Regions from separate parts of the Homo sapiens genome. Here region 2 is linked to region 1. The links are contacts of gene promoters, found by promoter capture Hi-C in human tissues and cell types (Jung and others, 2019). All regions are on one chromosome and are shown on one strand. Each heading gives the region's core, a stretch centred on a gene start or on the middle of the fragment in contact. The rest is flanking DNA. Distances are from core to core; before and after follow the strand shown. Region 1 holds the start of PIWIL3 (piwi like RNA-mediated gene silencing 3). Region 2 holds the start of LOC105372960 (a long non-coding RNA gene).

The links. Contacts are between HindIII fragments. The study calls those that stand out against the background at their distance.
Region 2: a contact is called between a fragment that was not itself captured here and the fragment with the promoter of PIWIL3 in region 1, in 2 of the 25 tissues and cell types used here (dorsolateral prefrontal cortex and thymus).

What each region holds. Positions count from the first base shown.
Region 1 is chr22:24,773,315-24,777,326 of GRCh38, reverse strand. It overlaps PIWIL3 (piwi like RNA-mediated gene silencing 3), which reads left to right and starts at 2,607. Exons shown (of 21, transcript NM_001255975.1): 1 at 2,607-3,005. The HindIII fragment of the contact is 9,839 bases long and covers 1-4,012 here.
Region 2 is chr22:24,399,399-24,403,618 of GRCh38, reverse strand. All of the region lies in intron 14 of SPECC1L (sperm antigen with calponin homology and coiled-coil domains 1 like), which reads right to left. All of the region lies in intron 15 of SPECC1L-ADORA2A (SPECC1L-ADORA2A readthrough (NMD candidate)), which reads right to left. LOC105372960 (a long non-coding RNA gene) reads left to right here and starts at 960. Exons shown (of 2, transcript XR_938082.3): 1 at 960-1,094. RefSeq lists an enhancer at 2,123-2,182. The HindIII fragment of the contact is 4,142 bases long and covers 800-4,220 here.

The DNA of each region.
Region 1 (4,012 bases), core at 1,358-3,857:
TTTTTTTTTTTGAGACGGAGTCTCACACTGTCACCTGGGCTGGAGTGCAATGGCTCAATCTCAGCTCACTGCAACCTCCACCTCCTGGGTTCAAGCGATTCACTTGCCTCAGCCTCCCAAGTAGCTGGGATTACAGGCGCCCGCCACCACGCCTGGCTAATTTTTTGTATTTTTAGTAGAGACGGGGTTTCACTATGTTGGCCAGGCTGGTCTTGAACTCCTGACCTCGTGATCTGCCCACCTTGGCCTCCCAAAGTGCTGGGATTACAGGTGTGAGCCACCGTGCCCAGCCCTGTCCTGTTTTCTTTGACAGTTGTTCCAGTCTCAGTGCAGTTTTCAAGCCTTTGCTATGCTGGTGTATCCACTTGGGTAAATCTGGGAGTTGAGTGGTGGTTTATATTATAGTTCGTTTCTCAAAACCCTTGCTCTGCTTCTGTGCATGCATAGTTCAGGGTGATCCTAGGACTTATGTTAATTCATACATCCATTTAAGTGATCCCCTTTAGCTTTCTCCTCTGCAGGATTCTGCAGGGTTCCGTTTTCATGCTCCTATCAGTGTTGCAGCACCCGTGCTGCTGTGCAGTTACACGCGTCTAGGTCAGCCTTTCAAGTGAAGTACAGGAAGAAACAAAAAGAGATTTCCCCTATACTTTTCAGATGCAGAAGTCTCTTTCCTTTTCCTCTGCCCAGTGAGCCAAGTGATTTCTCAGGGCTTTAGGTCCCTCTGCCATTGCTGAGGCTGCAGGACAGCTTTGCAACTGGGGAGATAAAAACAAAACAAACCAAGGATGATCCCCTTACTCCTTGATGTGCAGGAGACCCCTTTCCCACTAGCCTAGCTAGAAATTTAGGTGGTTTATCACAGACTTTTTACTTTCAGTGCCTGCTGGACAGTTCTATGACTCCACATGCCCTTGGGTAAACCAGAAGAAAGAGGAGGAAAATTAACTTACTATAGTCACCCCATTGAAAGGGCCTTTGCAAAACTCATAACTGAGAAAATTATGACAGTGAAACAGATCAGACCTAACCGACCACACCTTGCTTCTAACGCCTAAGCTGTCTTTGTTCATTCCTGGGCATAGGCCAAACTAGTCTTGGGGAAGAATTGTTTATAGTTTAAATTCTGAAACAAAACTGATAATAGTCCTTTCCTGAAAAAAAGACGCTTCTTGCGTGGGGAACTGTCCTGCCTTTGTAGGACTAACAAATTAGCTACAAGATGAGAGATTACGGCTTAGGGGCCATGCAGCTTCTGGCCGCAAGAGTCTGAACCTCCCCAAGTTGCTTCTGGGAATAAAATCTCCGTTGCAAAACTTAAGATCAGTGCTTGAGATATTTTGCATACCCTGAATTCCGATGCAGCAGATGACACCACCCAGACTGATAATCTGGCTCAACCAGTCCTGCGATCTCATCCAGGAAGAGAAATCAGCAAGAACTCACTTCCACCCCCATGATTCCATCTCCAACCCGACCAATAAGCACTCCCTACTTCCTGAGCCCATACCCACCAAATCATTTTTAAAAACTCTGATCCCCGACTGGGCATGGTGGCTCACGCCTGTAATCCCAAGGTGGGTGGATCACTTGAGGTCAGAAGTTTGAGATCAGCCTGGCCAATATCATGAAACCCCGTCTCTACTGAAAATACAAAAATTAGCCTGGTGTGGTGGCATGCACCTGTAATCCCAGCTACTCAGGAGGCTGAGTCAGGAGAATCGCCTGAACCCGGGAGGCGAAGGCTGCAGTGAGCAGAGATCACATCACTGCACTCTAGCCTGGACGACAGAACGAGACTCCATCTCAATAAATACATAGAGATATAAATAAAATAAAATAAAATAAAGTTTCTTAAAAAAAATAGGAAATCTCCTGAAAAACCTTTTCAGAAAAATAGCCACAGGTGCATGTTTGGCTCGTGTTTTTCCCAGAAACAACCTAAATCTGGCTTGATAAACCTTGATTGATGTATTTGCCCCAGTCACTCATGTTGTAACCAGCAAAAGGGCCCAGCTGCTCACTGCTTGTAGAAAGAAGTCAAAATGATAATGACATGTGATTTAAAAAGAAAGAATTTTATAATCTATGCTAGCAAGGGCAAGAGCAGAGAGCAATTCCACTCTTCCACGTGAGGAAAGAACGCAGGGGTTTTTTTTGTTTGTTTTTTGCGACGGTGTCTTGCTCTGTCGCCCAATCTGGCTGGAGTGCAGTGGCGCAATCTCAGCTCACTGCAACCTCCGCCTTCTGAGTTCAAGCGATTCTCCTGCCTCAGCCTCCCGAGTTGCTGGGACTACAGGCACATGCCACCATGCCCAGCTGATTTTTTGTATTTTTAGTAGAGACGGGGTTTCCCCGCGTTAGTCAGGATGGTCTCCATCTCCTGACCTCGTGATCCTCCGGCCTTGACCTCCCAAAGTGCTGCGATTACAGACGTGAGCCACTGCGCTCGGATGAACGCAGGGGTTTTTATTTATTTTATTTTATTTTTTAAGATATTTATTTATTTGTTTATTTTTTGAGACAGAGTCTCACTCTTTCACCCGGGCTGGAGTGCAGTGGCGTGATCTCGGCTCACTGCAAGCTCCGCCTCCCGGGTTCACGCCATTTTGCTGCCTCAGCCTCCCGAGTAGCTGGGACTACAGGTGCCCGCCACCACGCCCGGCTAATTTTTTGTATTTTTAGTAGAGATAGGGTTTCACTGTGTTAGCCAGGATGGTCTCCATCTCCTGACCTCATGATCTACCCGCCTCAGCCTGCCAAAGTGCTGGGATTACAGGCGTGAGCCACCGCGCCCGGCCAAAGCGGTTTTTAAAGGGAGGATTTGGAAGGCAAAAGAGGCAGGGGGACTGGGAGGTGTCAGGTGGTGTGACCCCCTCCAGTGGCTTGTCCTGAATTATTTTTCCATCTGTGGAAGTGGCCGGCGTCATCATGGCTGGAGGAGGTGCATGGTTCGTATCAGGATCTGACTACTGAAGCTTCTAAGGAAATATGTGACCAGATAAGTGAGTATGGTGTGTGCTTACCAAACAACTAGGTAAATAAATGTGCATAAGGCATGGGGGCATAGAACAGGAAAAGAAAGGGGGTGGAGGTTCACAGCACATTCCAAGGCTGGATTTCAAGAGGAGAGGAAACACGTCTATACTTTGTCTAAGTTACATCTTCAGATTAGCAGAAGAGAGGAAAGGGGAAAGGAAAAAAAGTTTTAAAATGCGGTTTGAGGTTAGGCTGCTAAGCTGCTGGGTTACAGATTCAGCTTATATTTGAGCATGTGGAGTATGTATATTTATTTTAAAAATCTAGAGCATCTTGGTCAGCCACAGTGGCTCATGCCTGTAATCCCAGCACTTTGGGAGGCTGAGGCGGCTGGACCATGAGGTCAGGAGTTCAAGACCAGCCTGGCCAAGATGGTGAAACCCCGTCTCTACGAAAAATACCAAAATTAACTGGGCGCAGTGGCGGGTGCCTGTAGTCCCAGCTACTTGGGAGGCTGAGGCAGGAGGATTGCTTGAACCTGGGAGGCGGAGGTTGCAGTGAGCCAAGATCGCACCACTGTACTCCAGCCTGGGCAACAGAGTGAGTGAGACTCCCATCTCAAAAAAAAAAAAAAAAAAAAAAAATCTAGAGTGTCTTGTACATATCCTTTAATAACCTACTTTTAAAAACTTAATATATTTTAGATACATATGTATATGTGTACCTACTTACATCCTTAAAACTGACGTGATGATAAATAAAACCGCGGAATTTCTATCAATATGTAAATGCTCTTCTCAGAAAAGGCGGGCTCTTTGCTCCTGTGGTTGATGGGGATGATGCAGATGGTGGCAGAGGCTTCCATTTTTTGAGCATTCGTTGTGGGACCTGCCAGTGCTTCAAGCTCAATACACCTTCTCCCATTTAACCCTCACAGCTCAGGAGGGGGTCCTGCCGGGACCTCCACTGCAGACAGGAAAAGAGGAGAAAGTTGGTATCTTCTGAATTCTTTTGGCAAAAGGAGAAGGGAAGA
Region 2 (4,220 bases), core at 1,621-4,120, 370 kb after region 1:
GCTGGAGGGCCAAGGGCCTTCCACTCTGCACTCATGTCCTGATTCCTACAGAGACAGCTTCTGATGGAGGCCAGCAGAGCCCTTTAAAGTAAGCTATTCTCAAAGCCAAAACTCACACTTATTTGAGGGGAAAATGCACATTAACGGAAGGAATTTCTATTGTTCACTATTCACAGGCAATGGTGGCAATCTAAGAAGAAAAAAATTAACTTTTTTAAAATAATAGAGACATAGAAAACATATTACTTACTAATTATAATGCAAGTTTCTTACCGATGAATTCAGATTTTGCACTTAGTTTTTTTCAGGTCAATTTAGAGCTTTTCTACTCTACGAGATAATTCCATGTTTGGATTAGGGTCGACAAAACAAGAGAGATGACATGTGCCAGAAGAAACTTTCAAAACGGCCTCTGCACAGACTCGAATGAGAAGCTCTGCCCCATTTTCTCCTAAGGGCACACATCCTTCATCCAGGAAATGTCAACTAAGAGATGTGACAGGGGACAGACAGGGCCTGTTTCACAGTGCCATTTGCTGTCCTTTCTACCCTCATAAAGACTCCTGACAGCCTCACCCCTCCAAGGGACTGGCTGGGTGGTTTCCACTCACTGCTTCTTGACCAAGGATGGAAACCCCAACTGTAGATGTGACCCTGCCTTCTGTCTGTGGCCTTAGGGTGGGATGTGAAAGCCAAGAGATTATACAAATCTCCACAAAAAAGATTAAAAATATGTCATAAAAGATCTCTAAATGTTTTAATTTGTTTGAAGTTTAATTAAGGGCCATAAAATATACTCCCAAATACCACATGCTCTTTAAATAGCTATTAAGGTTCTGGTCTATTTAAGGAAATGCCACTTTTATGGACACAGGGCAAGAAGCCAAGGGCTCTGATTCATCTCTCTGCTGACACATGCAAGCATCCACTTCCTCATGCCTGTCTGAGCCGTGCAGAGCGCTGTCCCCAGGTCCACCTTCAGGCAGAGGTGGTCCTCACTGGTCCTCCAGCTTCACAAGGACACCACACTGTTAAGCTGCAACCCAGTGCACTCAGAATGAAACCTGCTGGGGATCACAGCCCAGCCTCATGAGGTAAGAGTGAGTTACTAACAAAACCCTGGCTCACGATGCCCCCCTATACTGTGGCAGAGTTTGGGAGCCTGAGTGAGGTGAGTGAGGTTCCTTTTCTGTGTAGTATGGTGGGAGAAGATATAATGTCTGAAAGAGAGTAAAAAAACCATCGAGACTGTTGATTGATATCTCTGGGTAGTGGCTGTTAAACACAGAATGCCCTGGGAGTGATGAATGGGCACCTGCCTGGGGCCGGTGGTGCCTGTGGGGTAACCTGGCCAGGCCCTCTAGCTGCTGATCTAAGGGTGCTGCCCTGGGGACTACAGTGCTTATCTCCTCCCTGAAGCAGGGCCAATCTCTGCTCCAGGTCAGGGGAGGGGAGAGAAGGGAAGGGGAGGGAAGGGGAAGGAAGGGGAAGGAAGGGGAAGGAAGGGGAAGGAAGGGGAAGCAGTACATTTTCAGGGAGAGTCTTGCCTGGCTCATCATGGAGCCCAGGTGTTGGTACTTACATGGTAAAGAGGGAGCAAGAAGGAGGCAGGGCAGGCGGCCGAGGTAGGGCAGGCGGCCGAGGTGGAGCTGGCAGCCTCTGGAGATAAGCCCTGCATGTCTTTGCTCTTGATCTAATACGGACCCTCAATCCTCACTGTGCGCTAGAATCACTGCAAAGATTTTTCGGGTTTTCCTACGCTTGCCCCACCCCAGAGACATTCATTCACGTGGTGTGAACGAGTCAGGGCATAATGTTCTTTAAAGGTACCCAGGTGATCTGAATCCACAGCCAACAGGAAGGCTCACCATTTGAAAAACTGAAGTTAGGTGTTAAGTACAATGGGGTGGTACATCTAAAATGTGACATCGGTGAGTTTATGGTGATATCTACAAAGGCACACCCAGCCTGGCTTGGAAACCACTCGTGAACCTGAGTGCTGGAAAATCAAGGGAGAGGAACAAGCACCTGATAGAACTTTCCAGACCAAACCATAGTCAAGGCAGCTGAACAGCTGACAAAGGGGTTTCTCTGTAAAGAGGAAGCCTAATGAAGGAAGGAGTGACAGAATTACCCAGAATGACTGACCTCGTTATCAGAGGCAGTGACATCACAGAAAGAGGCAGCCAGTCCTGCTGCGAATGGACAGAACTCCACAGCTGAGATGTTTCTGCCAAAAACATGAACTGGAATCAGATCCACCCTCCAGCTCTGCCTACCAGTTTACACCACGGACAACAGGATGGGGAAGGAACCAACAGAATCTGAACTGTGGGTCACTCTGTAGGATGCACAATCAATCCCGTTCCTTCAAAAAGAAACTGAAAGAAAAAAAGATTTATGAACTGAAAGAGACCTAAAAGAGACATACTTCCAAACACAATGTGAGAACCCTATTTGGATCTTAATTCAAGCAAACTGATTATGACACAATGGGAGGAGTGAGCTCTAAGTGTGTGGTGACATTAAGTGGCTGGTGTTTGCTTCCGAATCCTCCAGGTGGGCGTGGGGACAGTGCCCTATGCTGATATCTTGTCGCTAGGGCTATGTACAGGAGGGTTGTTTTACCATTCTCATGACTTTAGTGCATATTTGAAAATTTCCATTAAGAACAAACAAACATGAACTTGATCAACAACAGAAAGACAACCCAGTTGCCCAAACATAAAAATGAGCAAAGGACGTAAATAGAACATTTCCCCAAAGATATACAAATAGCCAACAAGCACATGAGAAGGCTCAACACGGTTAGTCACTAAGGAAATGCAAATCAAAACCACAAGAAGATGACACTTCACAGCCATTAGGATGGCTATTATTTAAAAGAAAAGAAAAACATGGTGAGGATGCAGATACTGGAATCCTTGGACACTGCTGGTGGGAACGGCAAATGATGCCGCTGCTGAGGAAGAGTTTGGCAGTTCCTCAGTAAGTTAAACACAGAGTTAATATACGGCCCAGCAATCCCACTCCTTGTCTATACTTCAAAGAACTGAAAGCAGATGTTCAAACAAATACCTGTACAGGAACGTTCCCAGCAGCACTATTCAAAAAAGCCAAAAGGTGGAAACAACCCAAATGCCCACCAATTGACAAATGAATAAACAAAATATGGTCTATCCATACAATGGATTATTTTTTGGCCATGAAAAGGAACAAAGTACGAATATACGCCACAATATGAGTAAGTATTGAAACATTATGGTAAGTGAAAGTTAGACACAAAAGGCTACATACTGTATGATTCTATTTATATGAAATATCCATAGTCAAATCCAGAGACAGAAAGTAGACGAGTGGTTGCCAAGTGCTAGGGAGGAGAAGGAGCTGACTGATGAATGGGTAGGTGGTTTCCACTTGGGGTGATCTAGTTTTGGAACTAGGTAGTGGTGATGAATACACATTGCAAATGCACTTAATGCTACCGAATTGTATGTTTAAAAATGATCAAATGGTAAATTTTTGTTACATATGTTTTACTCAAATAAAAGAGGCTGCCAGATGTTCTGAAGTACAGTTTATGCCCAGTAACTCTATACACTAGGTGGATCTCATAAACAACTAAATTATCCTGGAGTGTTTACTGAGAAGTTACATTAAAACTCAGATGATGCATGAGCATGGATTCTATGAGAATTTATTACAGCTCTGCTTTAAAAATGTAAAAATAGATATATTTCTTAAAAATAAACAGGCAGCTAAGGGTAGGAGGCAGGGTATCAGTCAGCTTGAAACTGAGTACCTCTGGTATGGCAAAAGGAACCTGATATATGTCATCCTCTGTAAATGGCTATTCCCAAGAAAGGGAAGCCATCCCTGATTCTGTGGGAGAAGCAGCCATATTTAACCACAACTACGTTGCCCCATATGCTCAAAGTAGCAAGCATACTTCTCAGATATAGCTTCAACTATATTGAAGCTTCACAAAAACAAAATCTATAGTATGTTTTGGATTTAATATGCTTTAACTTTTTTTTTTGTTTTTTTTGAAATGGAGTCTCGCTTTGTCGCCCAGGCTGGAGTGCAGTGGCGCGGATCTCAGCTCACCACAAGCTCCGCCTCCCAGGTTCACACCATTCTCCTGCCTCAGCCTCCTGAGCAGCTGGGACTACAAGCGCCCGCCACCACGCCCAGCTAATTTTTTGTATTTTTAGTAAAGA